3 separate regions of the Homo sapiens genome follow, and all the other regions are linked to region 3. Evidence: promoter capture Hi-C in human tissues and cell types (Jung and others, 2019). All regions are on one chromosome and are shown on one strand. The core of a region is centred on a gene start or on the middle of the fragment in contact, and the rest is flanking DNA. Distances in the headings are between cores, read along the strand shown.

Region 1 (3,775 bases), core at 666-3,165, 340 kb after region 3:
TGCAGTGTGCAGTATAGAGAGTGGAGGGGACAGGGTAAGACTGGAGGAAAGGAGACCATTTAGGAGACCATTGGGTTGTCCAGATAGGAAAGCTGATGGTGACCTGGACTGAGGAGGTAGTAGAGGCAGAGGAGAGAAGTAGATGACTTCGAGCAATATTAGAAAGGTAAAACAGTAGGATTTGGCAACTGAATGGGTGAGGGGGAAAGAGGGAGAGAATGAGTCAAGGAGTGTGCCATGTTTCTGGCTTGGACAACTGATAGGTGCTGGAATAACTTGCTGGGATAGGAAATGCAGGAGAAAGAGCCAATTTGGGGTGGAAGATGAGGTCAGAACTGAAGGCATTGAGTTCGAAGTGTTCATGGAACATATGCATGTAGATGTTGAATAGGTGGTTGGATATATGAATCTGGAGCTGAGATGTAGGTTTCTTTTTTTTTTTTTTTTTTGAGTCAGAGTCTCTGGTCTCCCCCACAGAGCTGGCTCTGCATGAATTACTCTTCCTCTATTGCAATGAGCTAAGGGATATGAGGGCAGTTGTGCGATCTTAGCTCACTGCATCCTCCGCCTCCCGGGCTCAAGTGATTCTCCTGTCTCAGCCTCCTGAGTAGCTGGGATTACAGGTGCCCGCCACCACACCTGGCTAATTTTGTATTTTTAGTAGAGATTGGGTTTCACCATGTTGGGCAGGCTGGTCTTGAACTCCTGGCCTCAGGTGATCCGCCCACCTCAGCCTCCCAAAGTGCTGGGATTTCAGGCATGAACCACTGCGCCTGGCCTGAGATGTAGGTTTCTATATCACCAGCATATAGATGGGAACTAGAACCATGGAAGAAGCTGCAATTCACCAGCAAGAGAAGAAGTAGATGAGAAAGCAAGAGGGCCTAGAACCGACCCCGGAGAAGGGCTAACCTTTAAGGGGTGGGAGTGCTGAAGTCCCCAAAGGATTCTGAGAAGGAGTAGCCACAGAGATCCAATGAAAGTCAGGCAAAGGTGGATTCCTGCAAGCTAAGGGAAGGAGGTGAGGGAGGTGGGGCATGGTCACAGTGTCAACTGGTGCTGAGAGTTCCAGGAAGATCAGCTATGTGGTGTGTCTATTGGATTTAGTGACAATGACGTTGTTGTTTACTTGGCAAGAGAGGCTTTAGAGAAGGGATGGGGGTGGGAGCCAGACTGGAGTGGGCGGAGGAGTGAATGGAGATGCAGAAATGGATATGATGACTCACTCTTTCAGGGGACTTGGCTATGAAGAAGAGAGGCATGGAGTGGTGGTAAGAGAATGTGGGATTGAAGAGGGGGTATTTTGGAGACAGAGTTTCACTCTTGTTGCACAGGCTGGAGTGTAATGGGGTGATCTCGGCTCACCGCAACCTCCGCCTCTGGGGTTCAAGCTATTCTCCTGCCTCAGCTTTCTGAGTAGCTGGGAATACAGGCATGTGCCACCATGCCTGGCTAATTTTGTATTTTTAGTAGAGAAATGATGTTAAGTGCAGATGGAAAGGGGACAGGAGAGAAAGGGAAGTTGATGTGGTAAATGAAAATTATCTTCATCATCTTCCTCACCATCACCAGCAGTAACCACAAGGAAAGCTTGTTCTGCTCTGGGACTGCCCTGTCACTTTTCTTCCTGAGAAAATGAGCCAAAATCTTTCCCCCTGTAACTTTCACCTTTGCTTAGTTTTGCCTTGTGTCCCTCTTCAAATGGCTGCACACTGCTACTATGTCTCTCCTCTTCTTCAAACTCACAGCCTCCATCCTACAGGCCATGTGCTCTCAGCCTGGCGACCAGACCCTCAACTGTCTCAACCAAGTTCACACCGCTTGTTTGTCAAGCCCCTCTTAAGAGGCAGTGTACACACTCTTGCTTTGGTGATGGAAGCATGAAATGGTTCAAGCATTTATGATTTAGGAAAATAAACTCAGATAGAAAATGTGCACACCCTTTGACCCAGAAGTCCTGTATAGACTTAATGCCTTAGGTGTGTGAAGAAGCTTGTGCAGGGATTTCTGGCAACATGAATGTGGGGTGGACAGACAGTGAGCACAGTTGTTAGGAGCATAGCCTGAGTGCATTCTTCCTGAGATCAGGAACAGGACGAGGATGCCCGCTTTCACCGCTGCTGTTCAACATTGTACTGGAAGTTCTAGCCAGAGCAATTAGACAAGAAAAGCAATAAAAGGCATCCAGATGGCAAAGAATGAAGTAAAACTATCTTTAATCACAGATGGCACAATCCCATATATGGAGAATCCCGAAGAATTCACAAGAAAACTATTAGATAGAGCTAATTAACCAATTCAGTAAAGTCGCAAGGAACAAGATCAACACACAAAAATTAATTGTGTGTGTGCATTTTTTTTTACACCAGCAAGGAACATTTGAAAAGGAAATTGGAAAAATAATTCCATTTACCATAGCATTTAAGAGAGCTGAGGCTGTGGAGCCAGATGGCTGCGTTCAGAGCTGGCGCTGCTGTTTACCATGTGACCTTGGACAAGCTTCTCGCTTCATTCATACCACAGTTTGTTCGGCTATTAGGTGGAGGTAATACTAGCACCTTCCTTATAGAGTTGGTTTTTGTTTTCATTTTTTTGGTGGGGGGGAGTAAGAATTGCAAAAGTTAATATATGTCAGCAAAATAGACTTAGAAGAGTGGTTGGCACATGGTAAGGACATATTAGGGTTACCAAAAATTGTTTATAATTGGGAAAATTGAACAAAAGTTACAGTTAAATATCTATCCCAGAGACTGACTGGCAAATTATCACAATGTACCTCTTAGCTTGAGCCATATGGAACTGCCTGTATTCTATAGCTATGGCCTACAAAATGGGCAGTTCTTTCTTTCTTTTCTTTTTTTTGGAGAGAGAGTCTCACTCTGTTGCCCAGGCTGAAGTGCAGTGCAGTGGCATGATCTCGGCTCACTGCAACCTCCGCCTTCCAGGTTCAAGTGATTCTCCTGCCTCAGCCTCCCAAGTAGCTGGGATTACAAGCATGCACCACCACAACTGGATAATTTTTGCATTTTTAGTAGAGACAGGGTTTCCGCCATGTTGGCCAGCCTGGTCTTGAACTCCTGGCCTCAAGTGATCTGCCCGCCTTGGCCTCCCAAAGTGCTGGGATTACAGGCGTGAGGCACCATGACCTGCCAAAATGGGCAGTTTCATATATTCAATCACTAGGATACTCTTTAGCCACTGAAAATGATTGTGTATCATAGATCTATCTTTATCACAGATATCTTTACTGTCATAGAAAGAATTAATAACATATTATTGAGTAAAAATAGCAAGTTACAAAACAGCCTGCAGCCTGTAGTGTGGCCACGTTTGTAACATCAGTATATCTGTTTGTGTGTCTAGGTGTGGACATAAAGAGATATCTAGAAGACACTCAAAAGTTTCAACAATGATTGCCTGAGTGATTTGTGCTGGGATCTTCTTTTTTTTTTTTTTTTTTTTTTTTTGAGACCGAGTCTCTCTCTGTTGCTCAGGCTGGAGTTTGCAATGGCGTGATCTTGGCTCACTGCAATCCCCGCCTCATGGGTTCAAATGATTCTCCCACCTCAGCCTCCCGAGTAGCTGGGATTATAGGCGCCCACCACTGTGCCTGGCTAATTTTTGTATTTTTAGTAAAGACGGGGTTTTGCCATGTTGGGCAAGCTGGTCTCAAACTCCTGACCTCGAGTTATCCACCTGCCTTGGCCTCCCAAAGTGCTGGGATTACAGGCGTGAGTCACTGCGCCCAGCTGGGATCTTAATTTATATTTTTTCT
Region 2 (3,771 bases), core at 1,272-3,771, 270 kb after region 3:
ATCCCATCTGTTCTGTTAAATACCAAGCCATATATTTTGCCAATTTTCCATCAAAATTATTTTTAAGGCTATGGTATTTTCATGACATAAGTTTGTACCTGGTTTTTCCAATGAACCAATTCCGTCTCTGAAAATAAAGACTTCAAAAATAAACTTCCTTCCTGTTAACCAGCTTCATAGTATTTTGTTATAAAAACAAACAAATAAAAAAACTCCTTCCTAAATCTAAAAAACTAATAGCTTAAATATCGCAGTAATAGTAAAGGTAAAATATACACGGTAGTCAGTATTGACAGAATTTGGAAAAATGGGCACTCTTACTCATTACCGATAGCACTGTACTGAAGAACAATATCAAAAGTCTTAAAATATAGCCTGGCCAACATGTTGAAATTTTGTCTCTACTAAAAATACAAAACTAGCCAGGCGTGGTGGCAAGTGCCTGTAATCCCAGCTACTTGGGAGGCTGAGGCAGGAGAATCGCTTGAACCCAGGAGGTGGAGGTTGCAGTGAGCCAAGATTGCGCCATTGCACTCCACCCTGGGTGACAGAGTGAGACTCCGTCTCAAAAAAAAAAATCTTAAAATAAATGTTCATCCCTTCTAGCCCAGTAATTTTATATCTGATGATTTGTCCGAATAAAACATTCATGAAAAGACATCCTCTGTAAAGATTCTCATTAATGCAAGTTACATCTACAATTTGGAAATGACCAAAATGTATGAGGATTGTTAAATAAATCACCACATAATACAATGAAAGTCATTAAAAATCATGCAGAAGAATGTTTAATGACATGAGAAAAAGTCATGAAATGACATTAATTGAAAGAGGCGGATTACAACATTTATCTACAGAATACCAAGAAAAAGATTTAAATATATTTATCAAAATGTCAACCATAGTTGTCTCTGGAGAACGAGATTATGAGTGAATTATTTTTTCTTTTCTTTTTTTTTGAGACAAGTTCTCACTCTGTCACCCAGCTAGAGTGCAGTGGTATGATCATAGCTCACTGCAGCCTTGAACTCCCAGGCTCAAGTGATCCTCCTGCCTCAGCTTCCTGAGTAGCTGGGACTACAGGCGTGCACCACCATGCCTGGCTAATTTGTTTTTTTTTTTTTTTCTGGAGACAGAATCTTGCCATCATGCCCAGGCTGGTCTCAAACTCTTGGGCTCAAATGATCCTCCAGCCTCGGCCACCCAAAGTGTTTGGATTACAGGCATGAGCTACCATGCCTGGCCTACTAAAGTATTCTTGAACATATGCTTTGTAGAAAATTTAGAAAATATGATTAAACAAGAAATAAAGGCTAGGTGCAGCAGTGGCTCATGCCTATAATCCCAGTACTTTGAGAGGCCAAGGTGGGAGGATAGCTTGAGCCCAGGAGGTCAAGACCAACCCGGGCAACATGGCAAAATCCCGTCTCTACAAAAAAATACAAAAATTAGCTGGGCATGGTGGCGCATGCCTGTAGTCCCAGCTACTCAGGAGGCTCAGGCATGTGGATCATTTGAACCTGGGATGTCGAGACTGTAGTGAGCTGTGATCACACCACTGTACTCCAGTCTGAATGACAGAGTGAGACCCTGTCTCAAAAAAAAAAAAAAAAAAGAGAGAGAAAGCTTTAGTAATAATGAATAAATTAAAATATAGACTCTAGGTTCTTGTCATTATTCTGGTTTACTTACAGGACATAATGGAGGAATAGTAGATGGACATATATCACTCTTCTTCCGTACTGTAAGTAACTACTCATCGTGAATTTACCCCAGTCTCATCAATTTCATCAGTAAGGAACTACCAAAGGTCCCCCCACAAAGTAAAATGTGCCATTTGCTATCACTAGTCTCCATATAGTCTTAAGACTCATACTGAATTAATAAAATGCTAAATCCAATATTATTCAAATCCCAAAAAAATTGTTACTATGTTTTCTTTCCTTTACCTTTCTTATTTCTGCTGTAGAAAATCCAGATATCTTGAGCTGCTCATATTCTTTATGCAAAGTTTTAAAGGCTTCCATTAACTCTTCATACTAGAAGAATAAGTTAAGAAATTATAAACTAATAACTAGATCCAGTAGAGTTTTCTTTCTTTCTTTCTTTCTTTTTTTTTTTTTTTTGAGACAGACTCTTGCTCTGTCGCCCAGCCTGGAGTGCAGTGGCACGATCTCGGCTCACTACAACTTCCGCCTCCCAGATTCAAGCGATTCTCCTGCGTCAGCCTCCTGAGTACCTGGGATTACATGCGCGCGCCACCACGCCCGGCTAATTTTTGTATTTTTAGTAGAGACGGGGTTTCACCATGTTCAGGCTGGTCTCGAACTCCTGACCTCATGATCCATCCGCTTTGGCCTCCCAAAGTGCTGGGATTACAGGCGTGAGCCACCGCGCCTAGCCATAGAGTTTTCTTAATCAGGTTATCTATTAACTTACAGCGATTACTTAAGTCATTGTAAGAACAGCATTAAAAACACAAAAACACATCCTTATACATTTATATAGGGTACAAAAAAGTACATCTCTACCATCTTAACACTAAATACTTCTCTATCTTCATTTCTGGTTACTTTCCTGCTTCACACTCTACACTAGCTATGTTGATGTCTGAGTTCCTGAACATTCCATGCTCTCACGTCCAGCTTATACATCTATGACTCCCTCACCCATAACTTAAGCAACTCCTTTTCATCCTTCAAGTCTTCACATAGATTCTACTATTCTCAGAGAAGCCTTCTCTGGCCCTTTATCTATCCTATCAGAGTAGATATCATGTACAATTATAACTGACTATTATAATTTTCTGTCTGTCTCCCTCCATCATATAGTGAGAGCCAAGAGGAAAAGAATCATATTCATTGTGTACACCCTTGTATCCCTAGGGCCTAGCACAGTGCATAACCCATGGAGGTGTTTAATATAAAGTAGTTGAATGGGCCAGGTGAGGTGGCTCACACCTGTAATCCTAGCACTTTGGGATGCTGAGGCAGATGGATCACTTGAGGTCAGGAGTTCGAGACCAGCCTGGCCAACATGGTGAAACCCTGTCTCTACTAAAAATACAAAAAATTAGCTGGGCACAGTGGCGCACACCTATAATCCCAGCTACTCAGGAGCTTGAGGCAGGAGAATTGCTTGAACCTGGGAAGTGGAGGTTGCAGTGAGCCGAGATCACACCACTGCACTCCAGCCTGGGTGACAAAGCGAGACTCTGTCTCAAACAAAAAAAAAGTAATTGAATGAATGAAAAAAATCCTGTTACCTAAAAATTTTTTAAAATAGTTTTTTTTTGTTGTTTTTGAGACAGGGTTTCACTCTGTCACCCTGGCTGGAGTGCAGTGGTGCGATCACAGCTCATTGCAGCCTCGACCTCCCTGGGCTTAGGTGATCCTCCCACCTCAGCTTCCCAAGTAATTGGGACTACAAGCTTACGTCACCATGCTGGGCTAATTTTTTTATCTTTTGTAGAGATGGGTTTCACCATGTTGCCCAGGCTGGTCTCGAACTCCTGAGCTCAAGCAATCTGCCCACCTTGGCCTCCCAAAGTGCTAGGATTAAAGGCATGAGACACTGTGCCTGGCCAAAAAGTTATTTTGATGGGGAATGACAGAATAATATTTTTCTTGATTGATCATATCTTAAATCTACAAATTATTAATTATAAGACCCTTCATTCCAAAAGATAATATGTATTTTTATTAGGATTCCTGAAATGACTGGCTAAATGTGTAAATCATTATATATTGTAAATCATTGTGTGTGTGTATA
Region 3 (4,070 bases), core at 621-3,120:
AGCAGCCCTGAAAAACATCGCCCATTATCTCTCCATACCACCCCCAAAAATTTTCGCTGCCGCAACACTTTACGACTATTTCGTTTTATTCTTCTTGTTAACGTAAGAAGACAGGAATGTCAGGCCTCTGAACCCAAGCCTGCATGTGTACATCCAGATGGCCTGAAGTAACTGAAGAATCACAAAAGAAGTGAAAAGGGCCGGTTCCTGCCTTAACTGACCCCTGACCTAGCAACTGATGTTATCTACAGATTATAGAAAGACATTGTGAAACTTCCCGGTCTGTTTCACTCTGACCACCGGTGCATGTCATGTACCCCCTGCTTACTCAATCGATCACGACTCTCTCACGCGGACCCCCTTAGAATTGTGAGCCCTTAAAAGGGACAGGAATTGCTCACTCGGGGAGCTCGGCTCTTGAGACAGGAGCCTTGCTGATGCTCCCAGCCGAATATACTCCTTCCTTCTTTAACTTGGTGTCTGAGGAGTTTTGCCTATGGCTCGTGCTGCTACCATCCTGCCTGCACCCAGGTGAAACAAACAGCCTTGTTGCTCACACAAAGCCTGTTTGGTGGTCTCTTCACACGGACGCACATGACAGTGGTGGCAGGCGCCTGTAATCCCAGCTACTCGGGAAGCTGAGGCAGGGAGAATTCCTTGAACCCGGGTGACAGAGGTTGCAGTGAGCTGAGATTTTGCACTCCAGCCTGGGCGACAAGAGCAAAACTCCGTCTCGAAAAAAAGAAAAAAGAAAAGTTCACAGTGATGATGCCCACCAAAATCAAATAGAAGGTCTCACACATCCAGGAAACTAGAGTAGGGGATGAGATGGGAAAAGGATCTACAGGAGCTTCAACTGTGACAAAATGTTAAGAGCTGAAAAAGTTGCTGATGAAGATACACTGTGATTTTTTCAGAGCATTTTTTTTGCATCTACTACTGTAAAAATCAAATGAAAACAAAATCTAGACCAAAACGACTGTCTCCTTTAAGAAAGGAGCGATAGGCTAGATCTGAGAGGATGACTGTGGAGAATATTCGGACTCTGACTCAACGACCTAAACTGCCTCATTGGCTCAGTTACCTCCCTGGTCCCTGTATACATTTGAGTTTGCGATCCAACATAATTAACCAGTCGATCTGATTCCAAGTCAACCATTTAACAACCTGAGCACAAAATTTAAGCAGGCAGTTTCTTCCCTTGTGGGAAGGGAATGACAACTTCAACTTTATGGATTGTTGTGAGCGTCCCAATAACTTGTGTAAAACTTTCCTAAAACGTTAAGTGTGCCAGACACATACTGGTTTATATGGGTATCAGCTAATTCCTGGATCCAGCCTTTATTTCCACGGATCTAGGGAATAATTTTACATGGGGAAATATACCCCTCGAACCAAGGAGTTCCCCCAGGGCCGAAGCCTGACTTGGCAGGAACACAAAACACCTGAGGAGGGGCGCGGCGGCCCTAGCCTGGTGCGCATGCGCCACTGTAAAGGCCGTTAGGTCTGTCCCTGGCGCCCGATTAGAATATTTAATTCCAGTTGGAGCGTTTTTCCTCACCTTACTGTATTTTATTTCGGTAAATACCCACACATTTTAATTTCTGAGAGGCACAAATTCCTCTCAGACTCATTCAAATTGACCGAGTAGTCTTATAAGGTGCCTTTTGTCTCATTGTAAATCCTCAGTAAAGTTTGCAGTTTAGGATGATAACGTGATTTTTGCGTAAAAATAACAACTCATTTCACCTGAAAAGGACCACGACAGGAGCAGGGACTCGAGTTTCTTTTTATTCGGGCACTTCAGTAGTTACCTCTTGCTTGGGGGTGGTGCCGCGTGTGGACCCGATGGACCCCGGCGACGCCGCCATTTTGGAGTCTTCCCTAAGGATCCTCTACCGGCTTTTCGAGTCAGTGCTGCCGCCGCTGCCCGCGGCTTTGCAGAGCAGGATGAATGTGATAGACCACGTGCGGGACATGGCGGCCGCGGGGCTGCACTCCAACGTGCGGCTCCTCAGCAGCTTGTTACTTACAATGAGTAATAACAACCCGTGAGTTGAGGCGGGTAGCTGCCTGGGGCTGAGGAGAAAGCGGCGGCGGTCTGGGAGCGGGGGCTCAGGGCACGTGGGAACAGGCGGGAAGGAGCGGCCGCCGGCGCCAGCGGAGGCTCCGGGGTCTGCGAGGGCGTCCTGGAGCGGAGCAGACTTCGGAGCGCAAGTTGGGTTCACTGGGTGCCGGCGTCAAGTCCCGCGGGGATGTGGCGAGCGGCGGCTTGGAGACATAGAAGGCAGAGGCTCTGAGGACGACCCAGGCGAGGGTTTCCTGAGGCACCTGTCGCGGGGCAGCGCGACTGTCACATCGCTAGGCTGAATCCTTCCCTCTCGGCTCCTTCCAGAAGAACGTTTTTTTCTCTCGCTGCAGCTCAGGGACCCAGCCTCCTGGTTTTTATGCGCTAGCCCCCGCATCTGAGATTGGTCCCCCCGTTAAGTGTATCAGGAGGGTCCACTTTCTGGCCTTGGGAAACCCCTGAAAACGGGGCCGGGCGCGGTGGCTCACGCCTCTAATACGAGCCCTTTGGGAGGCCGAGGCGGGAGGATCGCTTGAGCCCAGGAGTTCAAGACCAACCTGGGCAACATAGGGAGACCCTGCCTCTACGAAAAGTAAAAATTAAACAATTAGCCGGGCGTGATGGTGCGTGCCTGCGGTCCCAGCTACTCGGGAGGCTGAGGCAGGAGGATCGCTTGAACCCAGGAGGTCGAGGCTGCAGTGAGCCGTGATCGCATCATTGTCCTTTACCGTGGGCGACAGAACGACTGCCTGTCTCAAAAAAAGGAAACGGGAGACTCCATTAATGGGTGGGCGTGGCGCCTTTCATGTTTCCTTGAAGCACTGAGCTGATTCCATCCTTGAGTGCATGTCCCTCTCCTGCTTAATATCCTTTATTGGCCGGGCGTAGTGGCTCATGCCTGTAATCCCAGCACTTTGGGAGGCCGAGGCGGGCGGATCACGAGGTCAGGAGATCGAGATCATCCTGGCTAACACAGTGTAACCCCGTCTCTGCTTAAAAAATACCAAAAAAATTTAGCCAGGCGTGGTGGCGGGCGCCTGTAGTCCCAGCTACTCGGGAGGCTGAGGCAGAAGAATAACGTGAACCCGGGAGGCGGAGCTTGCAGTGAGCCGAAGTAGCACCACTGCACTCCAGCCTGGACGACAGAGCGAGACTCCGTCTCAAAAAAAAAAAAAAATCCTTTATTGCACTTATGAAAATTCTTTCCCATGGCCTCTGAAGGCAAATATCTGCCCTCCACTCTCTGCGACTTCATCTCATTACTCTGTTCACTGCTCTCTAGCCTCCCTGGCTATTCTGTTATTTGTTTTTATTTGTTTATTTATTTTTATTTTTTTGAGACAGCCTCGCTCTGTCGCCCATGCTGGAGTTGAGTGGCGCAGTCTTGGCTCACTGCAGCCTCCGCTTCCTGGGTTCAAGCGATCCTCCTGCCTCAGCCAACCAAGTAGCTGGGATTACAGGCGAGCGCCACACGCCCAGCTAATTTTTGTTATTTTAGTAGAAACAGAGTTTCACTATATTGACCAGTCTGGTCTTTTTTTTTTTTTTTTTTTTTTTTTGAGACGGAGTCTCGCTCTGCACGATCTTGGCTCACTGCAAGCTTCGCCTTCTGGGTTCACGCCATTATCCTGCCTCAGCCTCCCGAGTAGCTGGGACTACAGGCGCCCGCCACCGCACCCAGCTAATTTTTTTGTATTTTTAGTAGAGACAGGGTTTCACGATGGTCTCGATCTCCTGACCTCGTGATCCGCCCGCCTCGGCCTCCCAAAGTGCTGGGATTACAGGTGTGAGCCACCGCGCCCAGCCGACCAGTCTGGTCTTCAACTCCTGACCTCTGGTGATCCCGCCGCCTCGGCCTCCCAAAGTTTAAGGATTACAGGCGTGAACCATCGCTTCTGGCCTCTTTGTGTTATTTGAATGCACCAAGCGTGTTCTCTACTCTGGGCCCTTGTACTTGCTGTTCCTCCTGCGACGGTCCTCATCTCAGCGTTGCCTCCTCCTT

The links. Contacts are between HindIII fragments. The study calls those that stand out against the background at their distance.
Region 1: a contact is called between a fragment that was not itself captured here and the fragment with the promoter of ANAPC7 in region 3, in 2 of the 25 tissues and cell types used here (dorsolateral prefrontal cortex and heart left ventricle).
Region 2: a fragment that was not itself captured here is called in contact with the fragment with the promoter of ANAPC7 in region 3 in 1 of the 25 tissues and cell types used here (dorsolateral prefrontal cortex).

The regions. Positions count from the first base shown.
Region 1 is chr12:110,057,758-110,061,532 of GRCh38, reverse strand. It overlaps a transcript of C12orf76 not described here. Among named protein-coding and RNA genes, the nearest start is that of C12orf76, 11 kb to the right of the region's middle. The HindIII fragment of the contact is 4,989 bases long and covers 1-3,775 here.
Region 2 is chr12:110,130,815-110,134,585 of GRCh38, reverse strand. IFT81 (intraflagellar transport 81) reads right to left here. Exons shown (of 19, transcript NM_014055.4): 5 at 1,950-2,039. Among named protein-coding and RNA genes, the nearest start is that of IFT81, 8.3 kb to the right of the region's middle. The HindIII fragment of the contact is 5,126 bases long and covers 1-3,771 here.
Region 3 is chr12:110,401,508-110,405,577 of GRCh38, reverse strand. It overlaps ANAPC7 (anaphase promoting complex subunit 7), which reads left to right and starts at 1,870. Exons shown (of 11, transcript NM_016238.3): 1 at 1,870-2,051. The coding sequence starts at 1,951. The HindIII fragment of the contact is 28,063 bases long and covers 1-4,070 here.